Linked DNA regions of Homo sapiens: all the other regions are linked to region 1. Evidence: promoter capture Hi-C in 16 types of primary human blood cells and fetal thymus (Javierre and others, 2016). All regions are on one chromosome and are shown on one strand. The core of a region is centred on a gene start or on the middle of the fragment in contact, and the rest is flanking DNA. Distances in the headings are between cores, read along the strand shown. Region 1 holds the start of EML6 (EMAP like 6). Region 2 holds the start of PNPT1 (polyribonucleotide nucleotidyltransferase 1). Region 3 overlaps ASB3 (ankyrin repeat and SOCS box containing 3). Region 4 holds the start of ERLEC1 (endoplasmic reticulum lectin 1). Region 5 overlaps PSME4 (proteasome activator subunit 4). Region 6 holds the start of CFAP36 (cilia and flagella associated protein 36). Region 7 overlaps PSME4 (proteasome activator subunit 4).

Evidence for each region. Contacts are between HindIII fragments. The CHiCAGO score rates a contact against its expected background, and 5 or more counts as called.
Region 2: a contact is called between the fragment with the promoter of PNPT1 here and the fragment with the promoter of EML6 in region 1, in 2 of 17 cell types (naive CD4 T cells and activated CD4 T cells). The highest score is 5.5, in naive CD4 T cells.
Region 3: a fragment that was not itself captured here is called in contact with the fragment with the promoter of EML6 in region 1 in 2 of 17 cell types (non-activated CD4 T cells and activated CD4 T cells); the score reaches 6.2 in non-activated CD4 T cells.
Region 4: the fragment with the promoter of ERLEC1 here is called in contact with the fragment with the promoter of EML6 in region 1 in 10 of 17 cell types (naive CD8 T cells, non-activated CD4 T cells, total B cells and 7 more); the score reaches 14.4 in naive CD8 T cells.
Region 5: a fragment that was not itself captured here is called in contact with the fragment with the promoter of EML6 in region 1 in 1 of 17 cell types (total B cells); the score reaches 5.3 in total B cells.
Region 6: a contact is called between the fragment with the promoter of CFAP36 here and the fragment with the promoter of EML6 in region 1, in 1 of 17 cell types (naive CD4 T cells). The highest score is 5.9, in naive CD4 T cells.
Region 7: a fragment that was not itself captured here is called in contact with the fragment with the promoter of EML6 in region 1 in 1 of 17 cell types (total B cells); the score reaches 5.1 in total B cells.

The regions. Positions count from the first base shown.
Region 1 is chr2:54,722,264-54,725,070 of GRCh38, forward strand. EML6 (EMAP like 6) reads left to right here and starts at 1,399. Exons shown (of 42, transcript NM_001039753.4): 1 at 1,399-1,514; 2 at 2,286-2,807. The coding sequence starts at 2,799. RefSeq lists an enhancer at 932-1,151 and silencers at 1,292-1,781, 2,453-2,602. The HindIII fragment of the contact is 5,681 bases long and covers 862-2,807 here.
Region 2 is chr2:55,692,416-55,695,222 of GRCh38, forward strand. PNPT1 (polyribonucleotide nucleotidyltransferase 1) reads right to left here and starts at 1,429. Exons shown (of 28, transcript NM_033109.5): 1 at 1,248-1,429. The coding sequence starts at 1,408. RefSeq lists a silencer at 619-678 and enhancers at 1,249-1,368, 1,379-1,438, 1,469-1,618. The HindIII fragment of the contact is 6,564 bases long and covers 1-2,807 here.
Region 3 is chr2:53,761,905-53,764,711 of GRCh38, forward strand. All of the region lies in intron 2 of ASB3 (ankyrin repeat and SOCS box containing 3), which reads right to left. All of the region lies in intron 2 of GPR75-ASB3 (GPR75-ASB3 readthrough), which reads right to left. Among named protein-coding and RNA genes, the nearest start is that of CHAC2, 4.5 kb to the right of the region's middle. The HindIII fragment of the contact is 1,118 bases long and covers 791-1,908 here.
Region 4 is chr2:53,785,571-53,788,377 of GRCh38, forward strand. ERLEC1 (endoplasmic reticulum lectin 1) reads left to right here and starts at 1,474. Exons shown (of 14, transcript NM_015701.5): 1 at 1,474-1,802. The coding sequence starts at 1,641. It overlaps ASB3 (ankyrin repeat and SOCS box containing 3), which reads right to left and starts at 1,383. Exons shown (of 10, transcript NM_016115.5): 1 at 1,251-1,383. All of the region lies in intron 1 of GPR75-ASB3 (GPR75-ASB3 readthrough), which reads right to left. RefSeq lists enhancers at 873-1,531, 1,047-1,466. The HindIII fragment of the contact is 9,655 bases long and covers 1-2,807 here.
Region 5 is chr2:53,911,177-53,913,983 of GRCh38, forward strand. All of the region lies in intron 20 of PSME4 (proteasome activator subunit 4), which reads right to left. Among named protein-coding and RNA genes, the nearest start is that of GPR75-ASB3, 53 kb to the left of the region's middle. The HindIII fragment of the contact is 2,420 bases long and covers 213-2,632 here.
Region 6 is chr2:55,518,468-55,521,274 of GRCh38, forward strand. CFAP36 (cilia and flagella associated protein 36) reads left to right here and starts at 1,251. Exons shown (of 10, transcript NM_080667.7): 1 at 1,251-1,449. The coding sequence starts at 1,335. RefSeq lists enhancers at 552-601, 1,782-2,031. The HindIII fragment of the contact is 7,670 bases long and covers 1-2,807 here.
Region 7 is chr2:53,940,387-53,943,193 of GRCh38, forward strand. All of the region lies in intron 3 of PSME4 (proteasome activator subunit 4), which reads right to left. Among named protein-coding and RNA genes, the nearest start is that of PSME4, 29 kb to the right of the region's middle. The HindIII fragment of the contact is 1,359 bases long and covers 663-2,021 here.

The DNA of each region.
Region 1 (2,807 bases), core at 149-2,648:
TAATCGTTTGAACCCAGGAGGCGGAGGTTGCAGTGAGCCAAGATCACGATATTCTAGCCTGGGCAACGGCCTGTTTTGTCTCAAAACAAAACAAAACAAAAAGAACAACAAAAACTTACTGTCTTTATATAATTCATTTGGCACTGTTTTATGGCACGACATCATTGATCAACTATATTTTTGCTTCTATCTCAAACCTTTCTCAGGCCGTGTTTTTGTTTTTGGCAGTGTTCTTGTTGCCTAGCACAGTGCCATCTCACTTATTTGTTGATTCTGTTTCCTTAAAAACAAAGATGAGACCAATTCAAATCCTCATTACTGCGGGCAGCAACAAATCATCCAAACTCTGGCACTTCCAGTTCTTTCGAGCTTTCCTACCAGGTCGGAGGGTTGTCTTAAAACTTGAGGGAGATGAACTGAGTAAGCGATTACACTGAAAGCATGGGAGGGAAAGGACGTTCCAAACGTCCAATCCATCATCCTTTTGCAGCCTCTTAGTCACTGGGATTTTGAAATCTCTTTCCAAAGACTAGCTATGGCCCTAAATTGGAAATAGGCTACTTGAGAACACAGTGGATTCATAGTTCATCTCGGGCAGTTTTAGGAGAAATGCCACCAGCTTCTGCGTTTGAAGGCCAAGGTTAGCTGTTCATGGCGTGAGCACCTTCCTGCTTCCAACCTCCGGTTATCTGTAAATACCCAAGTCCTCTAATTTAGGACGCAGGTCATGGGAAGACGCTGGTTCTTAGGGCAGAAGTGAGCTCACATTCCCAGCATTTTTCTTAAACTTGGCAGAACTGCACTTTAACAAATTAAAATCCATGTGAATGAAAAGGAAAACTTAAGTAGGAAACAAACTTAAGCTTGAGTCAGTTACAGCATGGTGAGGATGTCGGTTACAGCAACACTCAGAGACCGATGAAGGAGAAATTCCAGTGGTGGGCTGGGAGACCGTCTCCATTCCAACTCCACCGCTTTTCTCTACAGAGACCCACGCACGCCAGCTCCCGCCTCAGTCACAAGGGAACGCCCGCGTGGGCAGGCAATCGTCCTTGGTGAGCCGGGATCTCCTCACCCCGAGAGCCGCAGGCTCCGCTGACGCCGGTACAGGTCTCGCTGCGACTCCCTCTGGGCGCGCGGAATCCTGGGACTTGTGGTCCCTTCCGCGCGCTGTCCGCCCTAACCGGCGCAGAGAGGACTACACTTCCCAGGATGCGTCGGGGGAAGAGGCCACAGGGACAGGCAGAGGGAGGGGGCGGCCCCAGTCCTCCGGGGCGTCGCTGTTTCCAAGCGGCGAGATCTCGCCTAGTAACCGGCAGCTGAGGTTCACTAGCGCGGCGTTGTGGCCCCGCCCCCGGAGCCCCGGCTGGAGGAAGAACCTGTCTCCCGCGGCGCCCCAGTGACGAAGTCCATCCCCGGGTGCGGGAGGCGGGGAGGGGAGGGCAGGCAGAGGATTTCGCTCGCTCGCCCGCGCGGGATCCGGGACGCGCCGGTGGCGTCCGCTGGCAGCAGAGGTTAGAGGCAGAGAGCGCGCGGATGCTCCGCGGGCGAGGCTGGTTCGAGAGTGGGAGGAGTGCAGGGCGCCGCCAGGGCGGCAGTGCGCGCGGGCCGAACAGTCCTGAGGGCGGGCATCCCTCGCGCAGCGCGCCGACCCCCGGGACGTGTGCGTCTGTGGGGGGTTGCTGTCCCCCGGGTCCCTCGGGCGACCCCTCTCCACGCTGGGCTCAGGGCAGGACCCGGGATTCCGTGGGACCCGGTGTTTAGCGCAGAGGTTTCTGGGGAGAAGTACACGATTTTTGCCACTTGTTATTTGATTTCTCCTCGACCAGGAGCGTTTGTAGGTAGCGCACTCCCTCCGACTGCACTAGTGCCTCGTTTCTTCCGAGTAAGACAATCTTTCATGATGCGGATTGGAGTTGCTGATCAATGAGAGCTGCTAAGTTCTTTATGGCTTTCTCGGTGAAGAGAAGGTTCACGGAGGATATGATTATTAAACACACACATGAAAACTAATTGGAGCATCTAAAAAATGACCATTGCATATTCGCCCTCGCTTATTAGGGAAACAGCAAGCGTTCCTTCAAATCGCATCAGCAACTGCCAGGCAGCAGCATTTACGCATATTTCATATCATTAAGGAGATGGAACTGGAGAGAGAAAGCGGGAGTAGGGGACAATTTTTAAAAATACCCAACTTGGTTTAGTTTGGGGATAATTTTCTTGGATTGGGTGACTTATGCGAAAAATCTGTTTCTTTCTTCCTCGCTCTCGCTTCCTGGATATAGACTGTCAATTTCGGATCCAAAGACGGCGATGGCAGAGCTCACCCGGGTTGCCTGTCAAATCAAGGCTATCGCAGAATAAATCCCGCCGCCTGCCGCGAAGCCCCGGCGCACCGCAAACTTCAGTGAGCGAACTGGGTGATCGCTGTTGGGATATGCAGATTCCTGATGTAAAAGGCGGGGTGGCCCCCCCGAGAGCCTCTCCCGGGGGCCGGAGCCCGCAGGTGCAGTGAGGCGCGCGCGCCGGTGCCGGCGCCCCCAGAGCCGCCTTGCCCGGGTAGAGGGAGCCCGGCGCCCGGCGGGGTCTGGCGGCCGCACACCGGCGGCGGCGGCTTGTCTGCGGCGGCTGCAGCGGATGATGGTGGCGGCCGGCCCGCTGGGCTGTGCCTGTGTGTCGCCGCGGAAATCAGCGCCCTGCGCCGCGCGCTGAGCCCCTGCAGGTCCGCCGCAGCCCCAGCCTCGGCGAGGACGGCCCCGGCGCGCGGGGGGGCGGGGGGCGCGCGGGGTCGGCTTATCATGGCGGAT
Region 2 (2,807 bases), core at 179-2,678, 970 kb after region 1:
GAACTGGGGTCCAAATTTTTTCAAAGTACACGTAAAAAATTTAGATATATGAAGTTTGCATTAGCAATTCCATTTATTCTAAGAACGATTAAAGCAAACTTTTTTTTTAAAAAGCGGTCCCCTAAAAAAAAGTATGGGCTTTGTAAGCAAAAAACAGAAATTCAAAAACCACCTAGTCCCATAATACTAACTTTTTTATAGACTCTTAGAAAGTTATCTAACCTTTTTTGAGCCTCTGTAGTCTTAACTATAAAATGAGGGTAATAGTACCTTTACGACAGGTTTAAAAAGATTGCGAGGATCATATAACTGGCGTTCAAAAAACTGACTTTTCCTTTTCCTCCTAACCCAGGGTCATAGTGGTCACACTTTAGGCAATCAATTAGATTGGATGACATGATATCTTGTACTCCTAACTTCAAGTCATCCTTCCGTCTTAGCCTCCCAAAGTGCTGGGATTACAGGTGTGAGCGCCTGACCTTTTGCCATCTCTTTGCATCGATCTTTGCTTTTGTTTCTCTCTGTGTGTCTCCTTGCCTCTCTCCCTGTCACTGTCTCTCTCTCTCCCCTGCCTCCCTCTTGGTCTCTTTTTTTTGCTGTCTCTTTCTGATGACCTTGTTCCCATCTCTGTGCGTGTGTGGCTCTCTCCCTGTCCATCTCTTACCATCTCTGCCTTCCTCTCCCAGGTCTTAAACGAATATTTCCACAATGTCTGTGAACTGGACCTGGTGTTCAACTTCTACAAGGTAGGCTCCTGGTGAAGAGGAGGCTGAAGGAGCCCGAGGAGTGGGACGTGGGGGACCCGTGGTGCACTAGCCACCCGGAGCCTCTGCTGAGGTCTGTGTCCCAGCTCGAGGGGCATCAGAGCCCCAGCTTCCAGGGTCCGGGCCAGCATCCCGGGGGGCCTCGTCTCACCCACGTCAACTCGTTATTCCTAGGTGGAATGTTTCCCACTTAAGAGCCCAGTGGTCCCGGAAAGTAAAGAGATCGGAAGTCAGGTGGACGGACAGAGTCGGATGGAGCAAAGAAGCCCGGCACACACCAACAGAGAGAACGACATAGCGCGGGAAGGAGGGTCCGAGGAGACACATTCCAAACCCGGAAAGGGAAATTTGGAATTTAGGTTTAGGGTAAGGAGAGATTAAATAGAGCTGGGATACCGGGTTTCTACCCTGGGAGATGAATACGCTCAAGCTGGCTGGACAAGACACCTTATGACAATACAGTGAACGCACGTCACTCCTTACCTGTTGCCTAAGTCCACGGCCACAGCTCGAGACCCTGCGCTACTCCATAGTGCTCGCACTTGCAACTGGGTGAGTGCCCGATCCCGCCGTGGCAGAAGGAAAGGACCATCGCTCAGGGGCCGGAGCCGGAGGCACGAGCAGCAGTACCTGCAGGCCGCCATGACACCCGGCACGCGGTCAACGCAGGCTGTGCCCTGATTGGCTCACTCCGCAGACCGTGGGGCGGAGCCTGATGGAGTTTCGTTTCCGCGGTGCCCGAGGGACGCCGGGGTAACGGAAACCTTGGCCACCTTCTACGAAGACTAGAGAGGGTCAAACCTATCAGAACGCGATTATGTTGCAAACGATCTTTGTCTTTATGTGCCAACGAAAGGCAATTAGATAAATAAGGTTTTTGTGTGTGTACTATCGTAATTTAAAGGAGAAGTCCTAGAATAATGTAAATGTTTAATATGCAGAGTAAATTTATATTTACTTTTAATACTAGAAGTCATAGAACAACACATTATTATTATTTGGATCTGTGAACTAAGAATTAGAATTTGGGTGGTGGGCCTTGGAAAGAGATCTCCTTCTCCCCTTCTCCGCCCTGGTTTTTATTTTAAAAATTTCACATAGCAGATATGTTACTACAGCGATTTGTGTTAACCAATTTACAGTAAATTCATTTTTCATCGACTTGTAATTTTAGAAATCTTTATTGTCACTTCTGATTCATTTTCATTTCCATTGCTAATAATTAGCAATTTATATTTCTGTCCCTTTTGGTCGAACTCTTAAATGCAAAATGCCAGCTACTGTTTGAAGTAAATATTTTGTAAAATGAAAAAAAAAAGTTTTTGGGATTTGAAAAATTTTTAGAGAATGGATAAATTTCTTCCACCCCATTAATCCATTCTGTTAGAAATTCTTTATGTTTTTCCTTGAATGAACCAATGGGCATTTTCATATTATGATGTAAATTTTTTGTGTAAGGTGATAACCGCCTTACCCCAAAGAAAACCAAACAACAAAAACCCAACACTCATTCAAACACAGTTTTAAGAATTAAAAACGTTGGCTGGACGCTGTGGCTCACGCCTGTAATCCCAGCACTTTGGGAGGCCGAGGCGGGCGGATCACCTGAGTTCGAGACCAGCCTGACCAACACAGAGAAACCCCGTCTCTACTAAAAATACAAAACTAGCCGGGCATGGTGGCTTATGCCTGTAATCCCAGCTACTCGGGAGGCTGAGGCAGGGGAATCGCTTGAACCCGGGAGGCGGAGGTTGCAGTGAGCCGAGATCGCGTCATTGCAACAAGAGTGAAACTCGGTCTCAAAAAAAAAAAAAAAAAAAAAAAAAAAAAAAGTCCGGGCGCAGTGGCTCATGCCTGTAATCCCAGCACGCTGGGAGGCAGAGGCGGGTGGATCACGAGGTCAAGAGACCCAGGGCATCCTGGCCAACATGCTGAAACCGCGTCTCTACTAAAAATACAAAAATTAGCTCGGTGTGGTGGCGCGTGCCTGTAATCCCAGCTACTCCAGAGGCTGAGGCATGAGAATCGCTTGAATCCAGGAGG
Region 3 (2,807 bases), core at 100-2,599, 960 kb before region 1:
TTTAGGAAACAAACAAAATATCTATCAATAGAAGAATGGTTACATAAATTACATTACATCTCTACCATGAAATACTACACAAAAGTGTTTTCACTCAAGAGAGCAGAAGAGTGACTTGGTCTGTTGCATTTTAAAATGATCCCTCTAATATATTGAGGGTGGTCTGTCATAGGATGCAGAAGGAGCAATGGCAGATAGAGAAGATCTGTTAAGATGCTATTATAGCAACGCAGACAAGGTATTAATGGTAGTGAGAAGTGATCTAACTGTGTGTGTGTGTGTGTGTGTGTATACATACACACAAATATAGACATACACATACACAAATTTGCTGACTGACTAGATGAGAAATATGAGAAAAAGAAAGGAATTAATGATGGCCCAGAGTTTCTGGCCTGAGCTGGAACAATGGAATATTTCTATCTAACAGATGAAAAAACTAAACCACTTAGAGGTTAAAAAACCTGTCCAAAGTCACACCAATAAAATGGTAGAGTCACTAGAATTCAGGTCCATCTGACCGTAACTCTTAATCGCTGTGCTACAATGATTTATTTGTCTAAGGAACTTCTGCATCTGTTACTGTGCCCAGTATTAGTGCGTATTTTCTTATTTAACATGAACTAATAAAAAATACTATGAGCTAGATCATTTATTAGCCAAATAAAAGTATTTTTTAGCTATATGCTTAATAATTATAAGATTTTTAAGGGACTTTTAGTCAGCAAATGACTTATTATTGAATGGCATTAATTGTCAGTGAAGATCATTACTGCCCTCCAGGATGACAAGCTTCATAAAATCTCAACACCCATTACACCCAACCTCCAATACAGGAGAGAAGACAAGCAAATTTGTTATCTGTGCTAATATGTTAAACAGAAAACTAAAATGAGATACATAAGAAATACAAAAATATGTATGCATATTAAACTTCTATGTAATCTACACCACACTTGAATGCTCTTCTCCAACTTGAGTCAGAAGACCATGTATGGTACTCAGAATGGATTCCAAATCTAAATTGAAGAGACAGTGAAGCAAAACTCTTCTAATCATTTTAGATATTTCCATTTTATTTGTGTAGGCCTACATACCTTCTTATTTGGGTGCACTAATTATCTTTTAGGAATCTCTGACAGTGTATTAATATTAGATAAACCTCAGGGAGGTAGGAAAATTATATAATAAAAGACAGCAGGTGTGATGCATCACACCTGTAATCCCAGCACTTTGGGAAGCCAAGGCAGGAGGATCACTTGAGCCAAGGGTTTGAGACCAGCCTCGGCAACAAAGTGAGACAGTTAGCCAGGCATTGGTGGTGTGCACCTGTAGTCCCAGCTACTTGGGAGACTGAGGCAGGAGAACCGCTTGAATCTGGGAGGTGGAGGTGGTGGTGAGCTGAGGTCGCACCACTGCACTCCCACCTGGGCAACAGAGCAAGACTCTGTCTCAGAAAAAAAGGAAATACAGTCGGGCTTCTGTATCCACGGGTTTTGCACCTGCAGATTCAACCAACTGGGATGGAAGATAATAGCATTTGTAGGATGTGGAACCCACAGATACAGACGGCTGACCTTTTGTATGTGTGTATAGGACGTTTTCCTATCTTCAGGGCAGACTGCCGAACTTGAGGAGCATCCATGAATTTTGGTGTCCGTGGACATTTTGGGACCAATTCCCTGTGGATATGGCAGGACAACTGTAGAGATGAATTTAACAGCCAGTTCAAATGCCTTTAGTCAAAAGCATGCCCAAGTTTACTCAGCAGATGAAAAAAATCTGTAACATAAACTACACTATTCCGATATGAAGAAGAGATGTAACAGTATATTGGAAATGAGCTTTTTGCCTAGAAAAGGATATTCAAACTCATGTCTTTGTTACTAAAAATAGTTTGGGAACTCAAGCTTTATAGTTAACTTCAAACAGATTCTGAAAACATATCTTAAGCGTTTGAAATTAGAGGAATAACATCTATTTTTCCACTATCTTCAAACACTCAACTATAATAGACACTAGACACTTGAACATGTGATTTTAAAAACAATCATGACAAATTTCCTGCATTATGATTTAGGAAGTTTAGCCTTACCATCTCTTACCTGTTAAGACAAAAAAAAGAAAAAAACAAAACAACAACAACAAAAAAAACACCTACCACTACCAAAAACAATGTAAAGATTATTTCCTTTCCCGTCCAGCAGGTAACAAATTAGTAGTTCTGATGGGCTATGGACCCAGAAGTTTATATTTTAAGGACCTATACCTGGTGATGACAAGTATGCAGGAAAGAGGGTCTGAATTTCCACGATCAATGAAATGAAATTGGTTCTGAGTGTTACAATGCAGAGTATTATAGTCAACCTCATTTTAACTGAATGCTATAAATTCATTCAATTAAATGTTAGAAGCTTGGTATGAGAGGAAAAAAAAGGGCTTTAGAGTCAGAGAAATGGGTTCAAATCAAATACCCTAGTTTATTATGTAACCTTTTACAAGTCAACTTCTCTGAGCCTTGGTCTTTTCACCAATAAAATGAGGATAATACTGCCTCTAACACCATTTTTATAAATATTAGATAAAGAAGATAAATTGAGCATGTGGCACAATGACTATCACAAAGCAATGCTCAGTCACCATTTGTTTTCTTCCTACCCCCTCTATACTAAATGTCAGAATCTCGCCTTTAGTCAATGACCTTCACTCAGTAGTGTGCTGGTTAACATTTAATAACTAGCTGTCCAGAGGGAAGAAAGCCCAGTTTATAGCACTGGTTTGTAGCACTGGCTTGTTTCTGTGGTGTA
Region 4 (2,807 bases), core at 224-2,723, 940 kb before region 1:
AGTGGCTCAGGCCTGTAATCCCAGCACTTTGGAAGGCCGAGGAGGGCGGATCACCCGAGGTCAGGAGTTCGAGACCAGCCTGGCCAACGTGGTGAAACCCTGCCTCTACTAAAAATACAAAAATTAGGGTGTAGCGGCGCGCGCCTGTAATCCCAACTACTCGGAAGGCTGAGAAAAAGGAGAATCCCTTGAACTCCAGAGGCGGAGGTTGCAGTGAGCCAAGATTATGCCTCTGCACTCCAGCCTGGGTGACAGAGCGAGACTTTGTCTCAAAACAAACAACAACAACAAAAATCCCAGGAGTCTGGATCACATTAAGCATTAATAAGAAGTGCTGAATATAATTAGCGAATAACAATTCTGAAGAAAGTTATCTTCTTTGATACTATGGATTCCTGATGTTAAAAAAAAATTTTTAAGATAGAATATGGGACTGTCCTTCCTGCTTTTTGATTTGGTTCAAATCTGAGGAAGTGGGGGCGACCAGTCTTTAACAGATCTAGCAAGACTGTCGAGCTTTAGGGAATGGTAATTTCTCTAAAGCCAACACTCTATGTCCATTATATTGGAGATCAAAACAGACAATGGCATTTTTTCTAAAGAGGGGGAGGGAAAAACAAAACTTTTTGTCTAATTTGGGGATGCAGTCAGACGTGACTTAGTTCATAAACACACACATTCATCTGGCGCTAAACCTCACATAAGGAACCTTACCAGCTTCCTTGATAAAACAACACCCCAACACTTCAATCTAGAGATGGAGGGTAAAAATGTAGGGTTGTGATGTCTAGCTGCCCATTCCACGAGAGTCGCCCACCACGCCAAATTCGGAGGCTTGCGGTATTCACCTACGGGGAGATGGCGGGCTACCTCACCCCAGGTTTCCCCTAACACAGAGTTGCAGTCGCTGAACAAACTGCCCTGCGTTAGTCAGAAGCTGTTAAGTAACGAGATGGCCACGGTCCACAGCAGAAGAGATGGAGATAAGCCTCAAGCGGGAAAAATGAAGTGTACAAATGCCAAATGCGGAGAAAAAGAAGAAAAGCTGCAAGAAGGCAGGTCAGTCAGGAACACCGCCATTTCTCACATCTCATCGCTACTTCGAATTTTCTCATCTAAGGACCCGCACCCGCACGGTTCACACTGTCTTCTTCCCGCTATCACTCCGTGTGGGTCAAACCTCTGCCTGCCCACTGGAGAGCAGCGGGAATGGCTTCAGGAAGCGGCTGCCGCCTCCGAGACTCACCGACCTGCCGTGCTGCCACTTCTACACCGAAATGGCTGGTCCGAGGCCGCGTCTCCAGAGCTGCGTCCCAGAAGCCCCCGCTTTCGATCCCCACCGCGATGCTGCAGCCGTCCGAAAACGAGAGACGCGCAGGCGACGTCCCGGCCCCCGTAGGCGGACGGCTCCGCGACCCCCGGATGTTGATATGTCGTCTGCCCCGGAAACGGTGACAGGAGGCTCAAGGGGGCGGAGGCGGCGTTGCCGGGCTCTCCGGAAGGAGACGTGGCGGCGGTTGGGCCGGTGATACCCGGGCGCTTTATAGTCCCGCCGCCTCCTCCTCCACCTCCTCCTCCTCCTCCTCTCCTCCTGGAGCAGAGGAGGTTGTGGCGGTGGCTGGAGAAAGCGGCGGCGGAGGATGGAGGAAGGAGGCGGCGGCGTACGGAGTCTGGTCCCGGGCGGGCCGGTGTTACTGGTCCTCTGCGGCCTCCTGGAGGCGTCCGGCGGCGGCCGAGCCCTTCCTCAACTCAGCGATGACATCCCTTTCCGAGTCAACTGGCCCGGCACCGAGTTCTCTCTGGTCAGTGCCCTCACTAACCCCGCAGCCACCCCTCCTCCTGACACTAAGGGTTCGGCCTCTTCCCTCGGTTTTCTTTGCTTTTTCTCCCCAAGACCTTCTCTGCAGACTCTTACCTTCCCCAAGCCAAAGCTGCTTTTATGCAGCGTTCATTCATTCGTTCGTTCTCACGTTATGTGGATGCGTCCCCCTTGCTGAGCATTAGGGATCCAGCAATCACCTGCTCTCCACCTTTTCAATTCTGTCGCACTAGACCTTGCTTCCCAACATTCCCACCCTGCAGAAGCAGCTTTCGTAGAATAACGTCAGGTGCACTTACTCATCTTCCTTTCGGAAAATTAACTGTGGCTCTTACTTCACCAGCAGACTTCTTTCCTTCAGTATTACATGTCACCCTGCCCACACCACAGTACTTCAGACTCGAGTTCCCTCTCTCGTATTCGTTCTCCCTCAGTTGTATACACACACGGACATACGCAAACGCACAGCTCCAAGGGAACTTTTTCCTTTCCTAGTTGTTTCTGAGAGGGCTATTTGGCCTGTGAGATGTTAACGACCCTTTATGCAGAATATCCTTTACAGTTTTCATGTATTACGACTGTTATTTGAGTCCCCAGAACATGAGCTTCTATGTTGAGTTTTCCTGTAGTGAAGAACATTTGTAACCTCGCGGAAATGAAAATTCCCTCTTGGGGGAGTGGACCGCTGAAAAGTCTTCCTGTCCACGTGTACCTACTGCAGGCTAATAAATATTGTACTCTTATGACACTTACCATGTAGTAATTAACTCATTTACTTCAAATTGAAGTCCCGGAAAAAGCAAAATTTTTTTAAACTTTTTATTCCAATTACCTTCAAGCATTCAACTTGCAATACTTTATTATATTCTTTCATTACCATTTCATTGAAACAGTAAGTGACACTATGATGTCAAAACAAGATGTGTCAAGTTAATGGATGTTATTACCACATAGCTTTCTATTTGCAAGTGTTAGGGGTTTTTTGGTT
Region 5 (2,807 bases), core at 173-2,672, 810 kb before region 1:
ATGTTTCTCACCATAACCCAGTACAGAGGATAGCAACAATACCTTCTCAAGTTTCAAAACCAAGCCCATAGAGTATAAACAAAGAATGGCTTCTTTTTCACTAACTTACTTCAAAGCTTATTAATATTGTATATTAATAGTATCAAACGTTAATTTGCTTTTTCAGACTTTCAAGACCAAATTCCTCTTAAAATTTTGTTTTCCTTCTATAAAGCTTCAACCACTGGCAAACCTGAGCATCTTAAATATTTTTGCATGATCAAAAATATGTATGTATCCAAAATCTGTTAGTAAAAAATAAAATCAGATTCCTTTACATGAACGTTATGTCTTTACTGAAATTAGATTTCACCAAAGAGAAAAGGCCTGTACTCAAGAGTAACAAGAATAAAGCACAAGAGAGTTCCCACCCTCCCCCCGCCCACTGTTAGAGCAGGGGAAGTGCTTGCTATGAGCCATCCTATTAGAGTATGTGTCTCCCCACTGCTGCCATAAACACTTAGTTTTCTGAAGTAGAAATATACAGTCTGCAGCTTATGCAGTCTGTATCTAATGCCATATAATATTAAATCAAGCATGAATTTTAATTACTGTCACTTTAGTTACTGTCATATTATACAAATTAAAAAAAGCATTCTTTATAACCAATTATTCTCCATAGTTTTTACTATATCTAAAAAGCCTGTCATTTGGGAATTTAAAGTTTTTCAAACAAGTTTCATCTAAGAGTCCTGACACCAAATTTCTTAAAATCCATGTGACACTTTGAATTGTTTTCTTATCAGGGAATTTGAAAAATAATCATTTATGCTGACTACTTTAAAAAATCCTGTATAAGATTGTAAAATATTAAGTAATGTATTTAAATAAAAGCCTTATCTTCTTCCTCGACTTTTAAAACTTGGATTAAAATACAGCTTCCATATCTCCTACACAGAGGTGACCCTTGAACAACACAGGTGTGGGTCTACTTACACGCAGATTTTTTTTTCAACTAAATGTATTAGCCAGATGAGAAATCTACACATATGGAGGGCTGACTTTTCCTGTATGTGAGCTCTACAGGGCCTACTGTGGCACTTGAGTATGAATGTATTTTGGTATGCTGTAGGTCCAATCCCCTAACTTCACCAAGGGAAGACTATATATAGGACATATCTGGGTAGTATACATTACAGCTTTTGTTTATTCTTATCCACCATAATTTGATCTCTTCTTGCCTACCACAAATTAACTGGATTAACATGATTTACAATAAATGCTTCTCAGCAAGTGTAGCTATTTATTTATTTATTTTTCAAGATAGGATCTCCCTCTGCCACCCAGGCTGCAGTGCAATGGTACGATCATGGCTCACTGCAGCCCCAACCTTCCTGGCTCAAGTGGACTCACATACACCTCAGGCTCTTGAGTAGCTGGTACTACAGGTGCACACCACCTCGCCAGCTAATTTTGTTTATTTACTTTTTGGTAGAGACAGGGTCTCGCTATGGTGCCCAAGCTGGTCTCAAATCCCTGGCCCCAAGCAATCCTCCTACCTCCACCTCCCAAAGCACTGGGATTACAGGCATGAGCCATAGTATCCTACCTCTTCTGACCTTTAGAAGATTTTTTACTAAAAGAAATCTCTACCCATTACCCAAGTAAAATATCATGACTGTATCTCTTTGTGACATTATAGATCTCATTGTGCCCAGGATGTAATCTGTGATATATTAAACTGTTCTGGTAGCTTTTAGCTATGCACATAATCTTAAGTGAATAGTCTTAAGGCACTGTCTTACAGATCTATATTCTGACTAAAAGCTATGTTAACAATATGTAAGTCAAATCAAATTCCATCACTACCTCTCCCTTCCTCATGTGAAATCCATCCTACTCATTCACTAGTTCATTTTACAAACCATAGTATCATTTAACCTAAGGAACAATACAATTCAAAAAAATAATTCCAGCACAACATACTGTAAATAACACCCTCTATGTAATAATAATAAAATTAAATCTGCTTCATAGCTTCTAGATAGTACCAGGCCACCTAACATATAGTAAAATGTATTAAAATATTTGTACCACTAAAAAAGGACCTATGAATTTTCAACAACTATAGTATTCGTACCACTAGATGGGAATCTTCTTTAGATATGATTAGAGCAGGACTATGAAAAGAATCACTGGTAGGAAAGAAGGGATGCTGAAAAAGAAATAACTAATAACACAAAAACAAAATATATAATACAAATCACATATGTAAATGAAGGCTGGGCGAATTGTCATGAAACAGCTGTAAACAATAATATAAAATTCTTCCTGTGTATAAGTGAAAGAACATCCTATCTTCCCAATAACCCTTCCCCTTCCAAATAAAAATAAACATAAAAGATGTAAAACCAAGCCACTAATAGATTTTTTCCCTTCAAAGTACAAATGTCTCACAAGAGACAGTTAGGCCTATTTTTGTGTTCTATTATCCAATTCAATCCTAGGTAGCAATAATAACTATAAACACAAATGAAAACCTGGCTCTTATCCTGCCAGTGAACAAAGGGTCACTAAATAAAGAGAAATCTTATATGTTGCTAGATTTTAAATTAACTCTGAAAACAGGAACTACTTCCAAGTCTGACACATAAGCTTTTAAAAATAAATGAAAACAGTCAGAAGGTGAAATAAGGAGAAAACAGGGTTACTCACCGTGGAGTAGTAACTGTTTCCTTTTCTGTGTGCAGCTCCCCCAGCAGAGCTGGGTAGTTTCCTGGAGGTGCCAAGAGAGGTTAGCTAGCCCTGCCCCTCATTGCATAAGCAAC
Region 6 (2,807 bases), core at 1-2,500, 800 kb after region 1:
AAAAAAAAAAAAAAAGGCACATAATGATCATCTTCATGCATTCAGGTAAGATACTGTGTGCACATTCACAAAATAAAAATAGACTAAAGGATGGTTTATGGAATACTATGCAGTTGCAAAGAAAGCACAAATTTATATTTTTAAAAGATAAAGATATAAGAAAAAAATTCATAACTGTACATATAATCCTATTTATGTAAAAAATATATATATATATATGGTTGTCTGAAGATATTTTGGGACTCCAAACACCTTCACAATGACCACTGAAGACCCCATTCCACAATGGACTCCACCTAAATGCTGAGTTGGAGTTATAATAAGATTTGGTTACCAAGGCATTTATTTAAGTGAGTATTAACTTTGCTCTTGCCCTTGAAAAGCTCCTAATTCTAGTTATCTTTATCCAAGCGTAAGAGATTAAAGACCCGCCTGAAGATACAGATGCAAACTGACCGTAAGACAATCAGCGAGTCTCACACAGCTCGGCTTTGTATTTTCAGACAACCCTTTAATTACAAACGCCTCTGGGCCAATGGTCTGAAAATGGTTGGGACTGAGGTGCTGGGGATACAATGATGAACTGCAGCCGCTGAAGCCCTGTCAGGTGGAGACCCGGTTACCTCAGACCCTCACTGAGCCTTTTCTTTTTTCTTTTCTTTCTTCCTGTTTTTCTTTTGAGACGCAGTCTCCCAGGCTGCAGTGCAGTGGCTCACTGCAACCTCGGCTTCCCGGGTTCAAGCGATTCTCCTGCCTCAGCCTCCCGAGTACCTGGGATTACAGGCGGCGCCACCACGCCAGGCTAATTTTTGTATTTTTGGTAGAGACGAGGTTTCACCATGTTGGCCAAGCTGGTCTCGACCTCCTGACCTCAGGTGATCCGCAAGCCTCGGCCTCCCAAAGTGCTGGAATTACAGGCGTGAGCCACCGCGCCCGTCTACTGCGCGTTTTCTAAACCTTGGCTCCTACGCATTTATCAGAAGAGAGAGCGCAATCTGTCTATGACTTCCAGCCAATAGCTACACTTCTTTTCTCAGCCCTCGTCCACTGTTCTTTTTTAACCAATCAGAAACGTTTTTCAAACGTTTGCCCTCCCCGCTAAGTGCGCAGGCTCCTGGAAAGTTGTCTTCACTTCCGGGCCGCGGTCTAGGGCGGCTACGTGTGTTGCCATAGCGACCATTTTGCATTAACTGGTTGGTAGCTTCTATCCTGGGGGCTGAGCGACTGCGGGCCAGCTCTTCCCCTACTCCCTCTCGGCTCCTTGTGGCCCAAAGGCCTAACCGGGGTCCGGCGGTCTGGCCTAGGGATCTTCCCCGTTGCCCCTTTGGGGCGGGATGGCTGCGGAAGAAGAAGACGAGGTGGAGTGGGTAGTGGAGAGCATCGCGGGGTTCCTGCGAGGCCCAGACTGGTCCATCCCCATCTTGGACTTTGTGGAACAGAAATGTGAAGGTAAAAACCAGAGCCCGAACCGACAATCCTTTTCTCCTCTCTCACACCAGCGGCGGGCAGGGGGTTGGTAACCACAAGCCATCTCTCGTCTCCCCGACCCCCTGTCTCCACCCCTGTCGCAAGGTCTCGTTCCCCTCACCACCTTCTCCACCCGCGTCATCAGGTTTAGAGCTGGTTGTGTGGGAGGAATTCCTTTCACCCTGCCAATGTGTTCCTTCGCAGACCTGAAAACGGGGACCGAGACTCCCCTTCTCTGGGGCCGAAGCGCACGTCCGAAGAACATTAGACTTGAATCGTAAATTCGGTCTCTCACCCTGTCCCGAACGTTTCTGCCCTCGGCAGGTGGACTGTTTGGCTGGGCTTCTTCAACAGCTTTGCCAGACTTGAGAGGAGAAGCGTCGGTTTACCTGAGTTCCTTATGATCCCTAGCATTTCGCCCGGTGTAGTCAGCTTAGGAAATGAGAAATGATTTCACTCCAAACCAACAGTTAACTGCAAAGGAGGGCATGTGATAACTCCAGGAAGCCCAGAGCCGGTGATTTTGGTGGCCTGTGTTCCCCTTGGTGAGCTCTCTACTCTTCGCTATACCAAAAATTGGCGAGGTGGGGCAGGACCATTCTTGGAACAAATGAGGCGTATAGATATGGCATAATATTCCCCGTGAAGGACAGGCATCTCCGGGTTCTGAGCAGTTCTTCAGGCTTGGAGTTCTGCATTCAGTTCGTGGAGACTATTTGCAGCCCATTCGCAGAAAAGGAACCAGAAACCACGTCATATAAATGAGTGCCCAAGCGTTATTGTGGTTGTTTAATCGGGCAAGACTTTGAGGGTAGTAGTATTCATCAATTATTTGAACATCTGCTTTGTGTTGTAAGGTTGAGTAGAATAGAGCTAGGGTCAGTTGGTACAAGCTACAGGGAAACAAATTTCAGTGAAGGAAGTGTTTCATGATAGAATGTATCCAAGATGAGTTAGCCAGCCTCAGAAGGTAATGAGCTTCCCGGCTCCAGCAGTGTTTGAATGGATCTGATAGCGACTTAATAGGGTTAGAGGGATTCAGCTATTCAGCTATCAAATGGTCGGTTATCCTGGATGACCTTTTAAGACTTCTTTAAATTCCAAGATATCATGAATCTGGTAAAGATGAAATTCAGTTTGACCACTGAATCTTTTCATTACATTTTCATTGCTATAATCAATATTCAAATCGTAGTTATTAAAGTGTTATTTTTACAGGTAATTTTTTAACAATGTTCAAAAACAAAATAACTTGTATTTGTACTCCTTTTTTTTTTTTTTTTTTGGGAGACAGAGTGTCGCTCTGTTGCCCAGGCTGGAGTGCAGTGGCGTGATCTTGG
Region 7 (2,807 bases), core at 92-2,591, 780 kb before region 1:
AAAATCTGGGTGTTTCCATCAGAAATTAGCTTTCACAACCAATTGATGAGAGTTCGATAACCCTCCCAGGCACTTTAAGGCCAGCAACAATTATCAAAAAGAACAATAGCATCTCTTTGAGCAGATACTTATAAAGTTAGTCGAGTAACATTAAAAATTATAACTTACTTTACAACATGTAGTTGCCTCAAGTGAATACAGGAGACCAACATAAAAATGTGTGTATGAATTTATAATCCACATTTCTTTTTTAATAAAAAGGCCAATGTGTACTGGTTTAAACACGTGACCAGAATGGAATATTTAAATATTTACTAGATCATAGTCAAGCGGTCAAATGCAAACAAACAATATAAACAATGGAGCACTAGATAATTTTGAGCTGGAATTTTAAAATACGTGTGTGACTACTTACAGTATGATATGTACAAGTAAAAATAAAATTCCCCAAATCTCAAAAAAATTTATATATATATAATATATATTTAAATATATATAATACATATTTAAATATATATAATACATATTTAAATATATATATAATACATATATAAATATATATATACATATATATATATATATATATATATATATATATATATATATATATATATGAAAGGAGTAAGTTTCAGGCAATGTCTCCACCTGACACTTTCTTATTAAGCTTTTTGAAATTCTTAAGTCCAGAAGTCTATCCAACTTCTCTGAAAGTTTAGGAACTAATCTGCAAAGAAATTCCAAGGAATAACAGAGAGCAAACTCATCACAAATAATCAACATATTATATAACCAAGAGAGGAAAACTATAATCTCATTACTTGGAGCAGTAGAAATCCTCTTTAATTTCAAAACTACTCAGAGAAAAATTAACTGAAGAGGCAACTAGATTACAACACATGAGATGACTTCTAAAATAAAAAAGAAACTACATGGCCAAAAGGCCATCAATAAGCACTGTCTCTGATCATGAGAGGGAGGTTCTTCTTTTTCTTATGAAAAGGCTAAGCAATTCAAAAACACAGTTTAGAGAAAATCTAAGTTTGCCCATTAAAAAAAAACAGGGCAAACTTCTATCCAACTACGTTTAAAGCTCCCTGAAGACCACAGCTATGATTTTTATTTCTGGGCACTTCCAAAGTGCTTATAAAAAGGCTATCTGCTCATATATATTTATACTTATCTGTCTATTGATTTGTAATAATAAACATTTTATATCAGAGTAACAAAAAGCACAGATCTTGGGTCTTCTTTTAGTAACAAAGTATAGAATTAACAGCTAAGGTTTAAAGAGTCATCTAGTTTTAAACTAAATTACTCAATTTAAATGAAGATTTTTAAAAGGTAATTCTAAAATTGTAAACTGTTTATCCATGAAAATGAGCATAAGATACATAATTCTATCAGTACTAATGCTTGTGTTCTCATTAATATTACATTTATTTTATTGGTTCTGCGCTACACAGAAAACCTGCTGTTTTCACATACGACCTTGCTATACCAATATACTTTCGCATAATGTCATAAACGATTCTAGAAAGCAAGTCATAAAAGGCTGCAAAGCTACATGTTTTCTTCAGTTCCCTTCACGCTTCAGAAGAATAGGAAGTTAATTATAACACTTGATAGAGTCACTTCACTTATTAGAGGATTAGGGTATGTGGGAATGCAATTTAGTTACTCTAAATAAAGTCAATTTCAACCCCTTCTTAAATATAAGGCCTGTACCATTGGATTTATGATGTTTATCCAGAAAAGGGTACAATCTCTCTAACCTGTGATATCTGTATAGTGACCTTTTGTGATTCTTGTAATCTCTCAAGATGAAGGGAACAATGTTTCTGTTTAAAAATAAAATAAAAGGTTAAGGCTAGATGCTACTAGACTACATTTCACTAATTTTTAGAGGGAGTGAATAATCACTAAATACTTTCCAACTGTTGGAAATGTATAATACTAAAGTGATAACAATTCAAAACACTTGTTTTTTTTTTTAAAATCAAAAGGGATCTACAGAGTAACTAAGCTTTGGATGGGTTTTCTTATACCCTATTTCCTCTTTAAAAAGATACATCAGGTTGAAAAAGAAAGCCACAGTAGTGCATATAATGGTTTACAGTTTGGCCTTAGAGTCAGACAGATCTTAATTTGAGTATCAGTTCTGCTACTTCCTAGTTATATTATAGCTGTTTTCTCATCAATATAAGCAATAATACCTACCTCTCATAAAGCTGTTACAAAAATTAAATGAGATAAGGTATAGAAAGCAGGTATACGGCCCAGAATTAAGGATAATAAATGTTAATTATTATTTCATACTTAGCCATAATAAATTGTATTCTCAATTTCCTTAAGAATTAAACTTTTGTGCTTATTTTGCTCTTACTGCCTCTGAGTAGCTACTAATTTATGATTTAGGAAATCACATCAAAATAGGAAATTCCTCCCCAACTGCCACCCTATTATTAAGGGTAAAAAGAGAGTTCTTGTCCCAGTTCTTAAGCTCTTGTTCCAGTTTCAACCAATGATTCTGTGTGAATTTTCCTCTCTGGACCTCGATTTCCTTATGATGCCATTAACAAAGTAAATGTCAAATACTAACAGATAAGCCTGAGGAAAACCAATAGTCTTCGCCTCCAGTTACTGAGACAGTGAACCATATAAACTTGCAGATTTATGCCTCCTGCCCCCTTGGCTCTACCAGGACAATATTCACTTCTAAACCAGGGAAAAGTATAGCAAATGATATATTCAAGATGAGAGTAAACTAGGCTGCTCATAGCCAGAAGTACTTGCAGCTTCACTTGACA